Regions from separate parts of the Homo sapiens genome. Here region 1 is linked to region 2. The links are contacts of gene promoters, found by promoter capture Hi-C in human tissues and cell types (Jung and others, 2019). All regions are on one chromosome and are shown on one strand. The core of a region is centred on a gene start or on the middle of the fragment in contact, and the rest is flanking DNA. Distances in the headings are between cores, read along the strand shown.

The links. Contacts are between HindIII fragments. The study calls those that stand out against the background at their distance.
Region 1: a contact is called between a fragment that was not itself captured here and the fragment with the promoter of MAN1C1 in region 2, in 3 of the 25 tissues and cell types used here (dorsolateral prefrontal cortex, hippocampus and neural progenitor cells).

The regions. Positions count from the first base shown.
Region 1 is chr1:25,518,658-25,524,839 of GRCh38, reverse strand. No RefSeq gene overlaps it. Among named protein-coding and RNA genes, the nearest start is that of LDLRAP1, 22 kb to the left of the region's middle. RefSeq lists an enhancer at 5,577-6,171. The HindIII fragment of the contact is 7,001 bases long and covers 1-6,182 here.
Region 2 is chr1:25,615,008-25,621,284 of GRCh38, reverse strand. It overlaps MAN1C1 (mannosidase alpha class 1C member 1), which reads right to left and starts at 4,494. Exons shown (of 12, transcript NM_020379.4): 1 at 2,948-4,494. The coding sequence starts at 3,487. RefSeq lists enhancers at 803-852, 5,059-5,228 and silencers at 4,269-4,558, 4,579-4,868. The HindIII fragment of the contact is 13,132 bases long and covers 1-6,277 here.

The DNA of each region.
Region 1 (6,182 bases), core at 1,523-4,022, 95 kb after region 2:
ATCACGTATGGGGATTGCTGCCTTAATCACTTCAGCATTGTTCCTGTGCACGTGGCACCTCCTACTCCAAGTCCCTGGGACTCTCTGGGGACCTTCTCTGGCCGTGAGGCAGGTCCAGCCTCCTTACAGAGGATGTCGGAAGGGCAGGGGAGCTGCTGTCTTTCAGAGCAGTCCTCAACCAGAGGTGGGTGGGAATTGGTGGATAAATGCCCCAGCTTTCTCAGCCCTTGATTAGGACAATCCGAGGCACATCCTGTCCAGTTCCCAGTGGACTCCAGCAGGGTTGAGCCCCAGCGTCCCTGGCCATAGCCAGTTCGCCAGCACAGCCTGAACTGGTCCTGCCTCATTTCCCCACTTCCCACCTTGCTTCTTGGGGTCACTGCCCAAGGGAACTACCTGCTCTCTCATCCTTGTCTCCGGGTCAGCTTTTGGAGGACCCCAACCCAGCAGCAGCCAAGATGATCAATAACCAGAATTGCCTCTTAATGCTACTGAAATTTACACAGTGAGGCCACACGTGCTCCGTCCCTGCAGTGACCCCGCAGGTAGCGGGACCCATGTACTCCACTTTACAGATGGAGAAACTGAGGCTCAGAGAAGAGCAGTGATTTGCTGAGGTCATCCCACTGTCAAGCAGAAGGGCTAGCACTGGGCTGGCTATTTCCCATGGGCTCAGCTTTGAGTGGCTCTGGGTCCCCGGAGGACCTTGAGCTGGCTGGGCAGGTGGTCCCTGCCCCTCTGATGCTCTCCCTGACTGGTTGGGCTGACTCTAGCCCCTACGTGGGGCCTGGAACAGTGAAGAGCAAATGGGCTGGTAGTAAGAATGGCTGGTTATTAAAACCATCTATCACTCAGAAGGCCTGACCTCATTCTGTCCCAGGAAAGCCAGTCCTGCCTGGGCTGGCCAGGGGGTTACGGTGGGGTGGAAGGGGTGGGGCTGACCCAGGAGGAAAGGGTGGGCGGGGGCTACGCAAGGCCAGAGAGTAGCTTGGGTGGGATGAGGTCAGAGACAACTGCTGGGTATCTGTGTCTCCGCAGTGTGAGGGTAGCCAGTGCCCCAGGGACAGTGAGAGGAGGCGACAAGGCTAGTGTGATGCACCTTTGGGCCGTGGCCTGAAGAGGGGACCCTTGCTCAGGAAGAAGGGGTGGGTCCCTGCCTTTAATTCCCTCATCACTGCCTGAGCCATGCAAGTGCTGAATCCACCAGATCCAGGTTCCCAAGTGCCAGAAGACGGGGATCGGGGCAAAACGGTGGCTATGACGTGAACCCTGAATGTGCCAGTGAGTGGCCACTATTAGTGAGTACCAACAATGTGCCACGCATTTGTGTTGGGCACTCAATACACATCTCATTTCACTCAGGTGAATGGTTAGGGGCCTGAGTTCTGGAGGAAGAAGGTCCTGGGTCAGGATCCAGGCCCCCACCATGGGTATCTGTGTGCTTTGGTGAGTTGCCTCGCCCTGCTAGCTTTACTTTCCATTTCCACACCTGTAAAGTGGAGTAACAATGGCACCCGCCTCATGGGAAGGATGTGGCGAGGATTTGGTGATGGATCATGTTCATCATGCTCAGCTTAGAGCCTGGCACGTGGGACACTTATTAATTGGCAGCAGAGATGATGACAGGGGGCCCTACTCTGTCCAGGGTGCTGTGCCGAGTGCTTTTCATGGATTATCTGATTTAAACTTCATAACCACCCAGAGGCGGTGGGACTGTGATTGGCCCCCCTCTTACAGGTAAGGAAGCCAACTCAGAGGGGTGAAGTCTCTGACCCAAGGTCACACAGCTGCTGGATGGCAGAAGTGGGATTTGAATCTAGGTCTCTGCCTTAGAAGCCTGATTCGCAAAAACCCCTCACCCTTCTTCTTACCACCCCGTACCCTCATATATGAGGTTAATAACTCACTATGGTTCATCTCTCTGGTCCTTTAAGAAATACTTCTGGGTGAGGCTTTACTGGAGGCTCAGAGAGGGCAAGGGACTGGCCTGGGGCTGCAGAGCTAAATGGTGGCAGAGCTGGTCCTAGGACCCAGGCCCTCTGGCTCTCTGGCCAGGCCTCATGCCCACCCATAAGAGATCATTCAGGACCCTGGATGTCATTTCCATCTCTGCTCTGCTCTCTCGAGGTGGGGCTCTGATCTCCCATCCCTGTCCCCGCCTCACTCCTTTGTAGAAAGGTTCCAGGCCCCATGGGAGCTTCTGGGCTTTTCTTCCTAAGGCCACTGAACTGTGGGATTGAAGCCTCATTCTTTTCTCTTCCATCGATAGGTAATTTGCCTGGAACATGTTGAGCACTTTAAAAATTTGGTCACATTGCAGTGTCTGGGTTACCATGGTGACCTCACTTTGAATTTGCTTCCCAGGGGAGGCTGGTAATAATTAATACAGCACTTAGTGCTGGCTGCCCGCAGAGTGTGGGGGAGGATTCTGGAGTCCCCTGGGATCCGCTTCCCTAGGGGGAGCACTGCTTCCTCCTCTGAGCAGGATCCTGGGGTTCTCCAAGGAGAAAGTGGGTGGGGGGAGAGGACCTGCCCACCCTGCCCACCCCTTCGGCAGGCCCAGCAGCCATGCTGTCAGAGCTGGTCTATATCGGGATGGGGAATTCAGGGCTCAAGGGAGAGTGTGTGACTTGACCAAGGCCACACAAGATCCAGACAGCATCACCATTGGGTGGAAAGCTGATTTCCTAAGCTTTAGGACAGAGCTCCAGTGATTGCCAAGTTTGAGGAAGCCCAGCTCCAAAACTTCTCCCCTTCCAGAATGCCTGGAACACAGTGCAAATGCCCCAAGCTGGGGGTGGAGTGGGGAGGTCAGGGTGGGTGGGAGGCAGTCATGGCCCATTCAATGCGAAGTGGGTTCTCAGATGACCCAGGGTGTTGGGGACCAGGCTCAGAGGAACTTTGGCGGAGGGAACTGGAGAGGTTGGGATGGGGAGAGGAGCCTGAGAGGGAGGTCCTACAGGACAGGCCTTAGACATTTCCGGCAAAGGGTGGAAGAGCAGTGAAGGGGCATTCTGCTTCTCATGATCTTCTCCATTCCTCTCCTCCCCAGCATTTCTTGGTCTCCACCCACGCCAGTTCTTGTAGAAAGAAGAGTAGAAGGACGTGTAACAGAAAGAAGAAGAAATCTCTGTTAGGGCTGAGTGCAGTGGCTCATGCCTATAATCCCAGCATTTTGGGAGGCTGAGGCAGGAGCATCTCTTGAGCCCAGGAGTTGGAGAGCTGCCTGGGCAACATAGTGAGACCCCATCTCTAAAACAAAAAACAAATTAGCCAGGCATGGTGGTATGTGCCTGTAGTCTCAGCTACTTGGGAGGCTGAGGCAGGAGGATTGCTTGAGCAGAGGAGAAAGAGGCTGGGTGACAGAGTGAAAATGTCTCAAAAAAAAAAAAAAAAAAATCCAGGCTGGGGATGGTAGCTCACGCTGTAATCCCAGCACTTTGGGAGGCCGAGGCAGGTGGAACACCTGAGGTCAGGAGTTCGAGACCAGCCTGGCCAACGTGGTGAAACCCTGTCGCTACTAAAAACACAAAAATTAGCCAGGTGTGGTGGCACATGACTATAGTTCCAGCTACTCGGGGGGCTGAGGCAGGAGAATCGCTTGAACCTGGGTGGTGGAGGTTGCAGTGAGCCAAGATTGTACTCTAGCCTGGGTGACAAGAGTGAAATTCCATCTCAAAAAAAGAAAAGAAAAAGAAATCCAGACTGCATCCCACTTTTTCCAGATGGGGAAAGTGAAGCTCAGAGAGGCCTTAGAGATGTAGAGAGACCACAGCCAATAAGTGGTCAGCTGGAGATTCAAACCCACATCAGTGCATGTAGCATCTGCACTCTTAACCTTTACCCTCGGGCAGGGTTCTCTCCCTGATCCACATTCCCCTTGGGGCCTGAGCCGAGGGCTTGGGGAGTTTAGCTCTGATGTAGAGTTGGAGGGCAGGATGGGCCTGAGGCAGGAGATGGGGAGGAAAACTAGGCTGGCTTCTCTGCTGGAAACTGGAGCAGGTGTGGCTGAATCAAAAATGCTGGAAGCTTGGGAGCTCCAACCATGGAAGTGGGTTTTAGTAGAGGGTTGGGGAGAAGGGGAAAGGGGAAAATGGCTTTGGTATCTTTGCTCACGTCCAAAAACAACTGAGTTTGTGGTGTACCCTTGGTCTCAAAGGAAAACAAACCTGTGACTTTAGTATGCTGCCACCAGGTGGCGGTGTAATGTGGCTACTCATATCACAGATTCACCTCTATTAAAATAAATTGCACTCATTTTTCAAAAGGATAAAAGTCTTTAAAGAATTAGATTTATATATTATTTCACTTGATTCTTAAAAACTAAGGTAACATTTTAGGGGAAAATGCCTGAGATATAGTTTGGTTCATTCTTCCCTGATCCTTAACTTTCATCTACCTACCCTAAGCCTGGGCTTTCTGGTGATCTGTCTGTATGGTCCTAGTCAACAGCCAGTGAAGCCCACCCCAAAAGTTTTCATGCCAACTCGAGAAGCCAGAAAGAGCAAGGGACACAGTCAGCTCTCATCCTTCCCCTCAATTAGCCCAATTCTGGAGATAGCTGCCCACCACCCCTAGGCTGCCTAACTTCTACATAGACTTTACATATATTGTGGCTCTCCTCCCACTGGGTTTTAATTCCGTTTTTTTTTTTTTTTTTGAGACGGAGTCTTGCTCTGTTGCCCAGGCTGGAGTGCAGTGGGTTATCTCGGCTCTCGGCTCATTGCAACCTCCACCTCCGTGTTCAAGTGATTCTCGTGCCTCAGCCTCCCAAGTAGCTAAGACTACTGGCGCACACCACCATGCCCGGCTAATTTTTGTATTTTTAGTAGAGACGGGGTTTCACCATCTTGGCCAGGCTGGTCTCGAACTCCTGATCTCAAGAGATCTGCCTGCCTCAGCCTCCCAAAGTGCTGGGAATACAGGCATGAGCCACTGTGCCAGGCCTGGGTTTTAACATGACTGTCCGCCACACCAGAAGGTTAGTCCCTCCAAGCAGAGACCATGACTCATTCATCTGCTACTGTTCTAGGTCTTAACCACAATGGCCGGCACATGGGCGATGATCAGCAGTTGGTTGAATGAATAAATGAATTGCTATTTCACAGCTGAGGAAACTAAAGTTCCTGGAGAGAAATAATACCAATAATAATAATAATAATAATAATTGGCATTTGCTATGTACCTACTATGTCCCAGACATATATTAACTCTAGTTTCCACAACAATTCTAGGATACCATTATTATGCACATTATGCAGATGAGGGGACTGAGGCTGAGAGACATTTGAGATGGGGGAGGGAGCAACTGAAGGGGACCCAAGTCCAGTTCAGTAGCTCATTTGGGAGAGGAAGTTGAGGGCAGGCATCACTCATCCTGCTGTTCATTTATTCAGGACAAGTTTACTGCAGTTAGATGTCCCTGCTAGGCCTGTGGTGGGTGAGCACACAGAAGGGATGAGTGCTCATCACTCTGGCTGAGGCAGGAGGCAGCCTGAGTCCAAACCTCAGTGCCTTGGGCCAGGCCTGGTAGCTCACGCCTAGCAGTGCTTTGGGAGGCCGAGGCAAGGGGATCACTTGAGCTCAGGAGTTATGAGACCAGCCTGGATAACATAGCGAAACTCTGGCTCTCCAAAAATAAAAAAGTTAAAAATTAGCCAGTCGTGGTGGTCCATGCCTGTAGTCCTAACTACTCAGGAAGCTGAGATGAGTGGATGGCTTGAGCCCTGGAGTTGAAGACTACAGTGAGCTATGATCATGCCACCACCCTCCAGCCTGAAAGGTGACAGAGCGAGACTCTGACCCTAAAAAAATAAAAAACGGGCCAGGCGCGGTGGCTCACGACTGTAATCCCAGCACTTTGGGAGGCCGAGGCAGGTGGATCACGAGGTCAGGAGTTCAAGACCAGCCTGGCCAAGATGGTGAAACCCCGTCTCTACTAAAAATACAAAAATTAGCTGGGTGTGCTGGCAGGTGCCTGTAATCCCAGCTACTCGGGAGGCTAAGGCAGGAGAATTGCTTGAACCCAGGCAGCAGAGGTTGCAGTGAGCCGAGATCGCGCCACTGCACTCCAGCCTGGGAGACAGACTGAGACTCTGTCTTAAAAAAATAAAAATAAACAAAATAAAAATAAAAAAACACTGTAATCCCAGCACTTTGGGAGGCTGAGGCAGGTGAATCGT
Region 2 (6,277 bases), core at 3,245-5,744:
ATACAGCAGTGAACATCACGACCCCATCAACACCACCACTACCACCACACCATTGTCCCTGATTTCCAGTACAAGATATCTCAAAACAGAGTTCGGAAAGCCCAACCGCTATGGAGTCCCTGACCAGACTGCCAGTTCACTTAGGGGCCAGGGCCAGAAGCAAGAGGGTCTATAACCAGCTTATTCTCCTCTCCCTCACCCCATTTTACAGGAAGGTCCAGGAAGGAGAGGTGGGTTGCCCAAAGTCAGACAGTTGAGAGTGTGCTGAAACTCCAACCCATGTTCTGTGGGTCTCCTCTCTCCACCACATTGCTTTTGCCAAGGTTCCAAAATTGGAAAGTGAGGAAAAACAGTTGGTTCTAGTGACAGAGTGTTTCCTGACATATGCATGCCCAGAACCTGCAGCCTCAACCATCTTAACAACACAGACCTGGTGACCATGTCCATCTCTCGGGATGCTCATGAATGCACAGTATTGATCTAGAGTCCAAGTGTCCAGTTTTCATTCATGCTCATTTATCACCTTCTCTCTCTCCTGATATTTACTTTCACTTTAAAATCTTATAAGAACAGGGCCTTTTTTTATCTGATGCCAGCTCCCCCTCTGTTCCTTGGATTTAATCAATCCATGTCTGGAAATAAACAAACCAGGGAGGAAAGCAACAGTCCCTTTTGTGAAAACAGGCACCTTTCTAAAATGATCTACCCCTGGGCATGACGCAGATAGAATTTAAATGTGAAGGAAATAAAGACATTCTCCAGCAACCATCATATGCGTTCTTCCTGGGGTGGGACAGCAGGAATGGTAACTGTTAACAACTAAACCAAAACCCACTCTACATCTTTCAGGTTGTCGTGAGAGCGTGGTCAGTGGCAGGAAGCCTGAAGAGACAATAGGTTTCAAAACAACAGAAACCAGCCCTCTCTTCTTCAAGATTAGTAAGAGAGGGCTAGCTGAACACCAACTCCAAGTATATGCAGCATGCCTCCAGCTAGTACCAGGGGTGCAAGGAGATACCAGCTAGAAAGATCCAGACATCTGGTCACCAACTTAGACCTTCTCCCATCATGTTATTTTATACCCACCTGCAAAGCACAGAATCCTCACCCCTCTTCCCACCCTCCAGCCACTCCAGCAAGCATCATCCCAGACTCTGCTGGCAAAATAAATTGTCTTACACAGAGAGGGAGAATCAAGTTCCCTACTAGCCAGCCCTTCCTTCCTGCCATGACTCTCCAGCCCCTGGCATTCGGAAATGGACCACCATCTAAATGCAAACACAGAGAGTATCTCTTCTGAGGAAGATGATAGTTAATTCTTAATCCTTTGGGGGATCAGTTTGAAAATCTGATGGCACCTCTGGATGCCCCATGAAAAACTGCATGCATGCAATTTATATGTAATTTCACTGGGGGTCACTGCCCTACTGGGAGGTCGAGAGGGGCAAAAAGAGCCACTGTGCTCAGAAGCAGCTTTGAGAAAGAGCTATGGGTGGTCCAAGTGAGTATTCAACAGCGTAGTTCCTTAACAAGAAAGGGAGAAATGAATGCCCCTTACTTAGCTACTGCAAGTTCCAGCTGTCACTCAACCTGAGATTTCAACAGGAATCTGGAAACTGAGAGCACACAAACATGCACACACACATACACACCAAGCACTCAGTTTCCCTGTGGCTTCCTACTGTAACTTCACAAAATGTCCTGTGATTGCTAGTTAAGTCTCCAAACAGAGTAACAGAAAAGATAAGAAGTGGAAGAGAGGTGGGCGCTGGAAGGGAGGATGGTTCAGACAAGGAGAAGGGGATAATCTGGCTAAGCCCTCCATCGGCTCTGAGCAGGTCTTGACAGGGCAGGTCCTGATCCTTGCTGCCTGCTCTTCCTGGAAATCAGGGTCGAACTGCTGACTTCTTCGCAGCAAATCAAGAAGTCCAGGCAGAAGCAGCCCTTTCTTTCCTTTGAGTCCATGGGGAGGGGAGAGCATCCTCTCGTTTCTAGGGAGGAGACCCTGGCCCACAGCTTGCCCACGGCCCCCTCGTGGCCTGGGGGTGTCACTGCAGCCCCCTCTGCATTGCTGGGCACCATCCGCACGCAGGCAGTTCTAACAGTGGTCCAGCAGAATATTTAGTGGCAGTGGCAAGCTGGCAACTGTCTTCAAGCCTTGTGAGGCTGTGTTTGCTTTTGATTTCTTAAACTAAGACTCAGACTTAAAGTGATCCTTCTAAATCCCTCCTGGTACAATCCCTACAGGGAACCAGCTCAAGATCTGCTTCATTATGCCAATAACCTCGGAGCTTCTGTAATATGACCACTGCTTTATCATCTCTTCCTGCATCATATGCAATTATGTACAATTGTGTACAATTGTTCTGAAGCTCAATAAGCTCAATAGAAACAGAATGCACAACATCCTCTGGTTTGTAGGTTGCTTACTAGATTACAAAATATTTGCAGGACACCAAATACCCCCTTAAATCCTGGGTTTTTAGGTAAGCAGGTCCTATAGGGGTTTTGGACTTAAGGTCACACAGTGAAAAAGAATGGGACCAGTGGCTCTGTGTCCACAAATGCAAAAAGAGGGTGCACTAAGGAACCTGAACTCCACTCTCATTAGCAACTCCACAAAGGGAAGGAGTGGAGCTCACTGGGCCTGGGGGTTGGATACGACATACCAGAGTCTGGGAGTGAGGGGGCAGTTGGTCTAGGGGTTCAGCTGCCATCTGTCACGGTGGGGACGATTAACTGACCCGAGTGGTGGGAAACTGTGTAGGGAGGAAAGAAGGTGGGACATTTGGGAGGAAAGGGGAAGGTGCAAAGTGCAGTCTGCAGGGCCAGAAGTAGACCTGGGACCAGGAGTGACTGAGGCAAGGGAAAGGGGTGGGAGCGCCAGAGGGTCTTCTCTCCTTAGAGGGGGCAGTTGGTGGGAGGAGTTTGGGGGCTGAGTCCATACCTCCTTGATTTTCTCCCGCTGGGCTCGCACTTGGCTCTGGGGCTCCTGACTCTCATCGGCCCTCGTTCCCAGGACCGGGTGGCGGAGACGGCTCCGGAATGCGTTGAAGTCAAAGCGGAAAGGGACGCCCTCGTCCCCGGGCCTGGAGGCCGGGATGCTATTGCCCCGGGCCGCCGTGGCCTCCTCGCGGGGTCCAGTGGGGCGGGTGCGCCGCAGCCCCCCTTTCCTGCGGCGGGGACTGGCCCAGCTGCTGGGGTCATCCTCGCCCGGGGCCGGCGCGGCGGGGGCCGGGTTGGGAGGCGGCTCCTGCTCGCGGGCCGGGGCATGGCCGGCGATTTCAGCCACCACTTCCAGACCAGGCTGCTGGGTCCGGGGGGCCAGGAAGAGGCGCTTGAGGCGAGAGGAGTGGGGCAGCAGGAAGAGGGCCCCGAAGCACAGGGTGACCAGGCCCGAGAGGAAGAGGAGGAAGAGGAACTTCTGCGGCAGCCGCAGCCCCCACGGGGAGGCCGGGACGAAGCCGGGCACTTTCCTCATGAGCATCGTGGCCCGGCCGGTGGCTCCAGAAGCCCTCGGAGTCCAGGCACGTGTCTGCGGGGGCGCGGTGAGGGGAGGGCGTCCGGAGCGCCGCCCGGGATGGGGGTCCCTGGGCAGGGTTGCCAACCCTGAGAGTTTCGCCGCTTCGGGGGACTGTCCCCGAAGTTCAGGGAGTTTGGAGCGAGTCCTCCCGCGAGGAGGCGGGGGCGCAGCGGCCTCGGCGGGGCCCGGGCGAGCGGAGCGGCACGGCTTGGGGCCCGGGCCCGCAGCGACCGGCCGCGCGCCGCAGCCTCCCCTCCGGCCGAGCCCTCCCCGCCGCGCCGGGGCCCGCGCCTTCCCGCGCTGCGGCCGCCGGGACCGTCACATGCCGTCCGCGGCGTCCCGGCTGTCCGCGCCGAGGGGCGCCCGCAGGCCCGCACCAAGCCGCCCTCCGCCCCCTAGGCTCCCGCCCGCGCTGGTAGGCGCCCAAAGTTTCAGCTTCAGAAGCAGTTTCCGGAGGGGACCGAGGCGATGGGGGGCTGGCGTGTCAGCGCCGCCCCGAGCGCGCGCACACCCGGCCCGGTCGCGACAGCGCCCGGGCTCGACTATCGGGACACGTCCACAACTTTCTCCGCCGCGGAGAGGGCGCCGGGAGCTGGGAGCCGGAGTGGCCAGGGAGCAGGAGCAGGCACTTCCGAGCCTGCGGGGGCAGGGGGCTTCCCCCGGGCCCCAGACAGCGCAGGGATGCCTGGGTCCGGAGCCGCGGCTGGGCGGCTGCAGATGCGCCCGGGAGCGCGGGCTCCCGCCCCTCGAACTCGGCAGGGCGCGGGGCTCCCACTGGGATCACCTGTTCCCGGCCCCGCCGGCTCCGCGGAGCGCGCAGCCCTGGCCGCGCCTCCCCCGCTGCAGCTGTCTTCCTCGCAGCGGCCGCTCCAGACCGGCCGCTGCCGCCGAGCCTGCGCCCCACACGCGCGCACAGCCACCCGGCCGCCTCCACCGCCGTCCCCGCCGCCGCCGCCGCTCGGGCTTTCACTGCGACAGCGCCCGCCGCCCCGCCTCCTGCCGCCCGCCGGCCACGCCCGCCGGCCACGCCCACGCGCGCGCCCCGCGCCCCCTCCCGCCGCCGCCGCGCCGCAGCCGGCTGAGGGCCGCGCGTCCGGGGGCGGGGCAGAGGCCGAGCGCGGGCGGGAGCGCAGCCCGCTCCAAGCCCCGCCCTCCCCGAAGGGCAGGCGTCGCGCGCACCCCCCATCCAGCGGGCGCCAATGGTCCAGCGGCGCGGGGCAGGCGAGGGCGGGGGCGGAGAGCGCAACGAGGGCATTGGCTGCATCCGAGGGATCCCCGTTGGGCCACAGTCGTCCATTGGTTACTGCCCAGCCTTCGCTGGACCCCAAGCGACAGAGACCACCCCCCAGCCCGCCCGCGAGGCTCGGGTTGGTGGCCCCCGGAAGCGGGCCGGAGACGGTGTTGCTCTGGAGGGGTGTGCCCGTCGCTGGGTGACCTCTCTCGCCCCCGAGTGCCAGCCCGGGGTTGTCAGGGAGCTGGCAGCCCGCGCCCTGGCGGCTGCCCCGGGCTTCTCAGCGCTAACGCCGGGCTGCAGGGGTGCTGCTGGTGGCTGGAGCCAAGCCAGAGAGCTGTGACCGCGGCCGGGTCGGCGGAGGTGATGTTTCCACTGGCCCCCTCGCAGACCACTGGCGTGCCTTCCTTTTCCCACAACCCTAAACGGGGCCAGGGCTCCTGGGTGGAGCACGGAGGGAGGCTGACCGCAGCCTTGAGAAGCAGCGAAAGGAAGAGAGCCCCGGGCGTGTCTACAGAAGACCACACACATAATGTGACGGACGTCTACCTTGATGCCTACGTGTGTTTATATGCACATGTGTGCGTCTGGGCATAGATCTATATGCACACAGAGACTGGCATGTGGGTGTGTACATGCACTCAAACATACACTTAATTTGGGTATGGACACCCAAGTGATTATACCACAGTATGCATAGACATATATGTAAATTAGTACAAACATGGACATGTGCACCCGCATACCCACAGACACTCAGGCAACAGATAACCTCCAAAAACAGCCAGGCATCAACTCCCAGACACGCGTGTCCTCAACCCCAAGGCCCTCACATCTTCCTCCTTGGACTTAGTCTCTGCATCTTCCCTTCCTGTTAAACCTAACCCAGGGTGAAGCAACATTGTGCTGTGTGGGTCTTTCATGCAAAACACTTTATAGAGACAAATAACAGCAGAGGGAGAGACAAATTAAGAGGTTTGTAATAGGCAAGAGGGAAAATATCTACTTTCAGCTGCAATTTAAAATGAAATGCAGTGTTGACGAGACAGAAAATACTGCAGGGAAGCCTTTCCCGACAGAAGAAGCGGGCCAGGCAGGCTCTCGCCTCGTAAATCTTGCTTCTTCCCTGAGGCCTGCTGGGGATGGGCGGCTGGGACTCAGTCATCCTTCTACCTCTGGCCAGACCACTGACAGCAGACCCACCCTCGATGTTTAAATATCCCTGGCATGCAACTTTCTCTCAACTGAAAATGAAAGTGGGTAACAGGTGCAAACATTTTGGTCACTGGAGATGACTAATCCTTCCCAATCCCACAAATATATGCAGCTTAAATATAAAATTCTAATTCAGATATTTCAATCTCTTGTGAGTTTCGTTGGCAGGTTGATGTGGAGCCAGCTGTGCAAATCAGAGATAAGCATGTGACCCATTTGGGTGCAGGAGCCCAGAGACCTGGCCTGGCCTCACCCATGTCTCCAACACCCAAGCATCGCCTCACTGGGTCCCACTGCAGGAAAGGGCA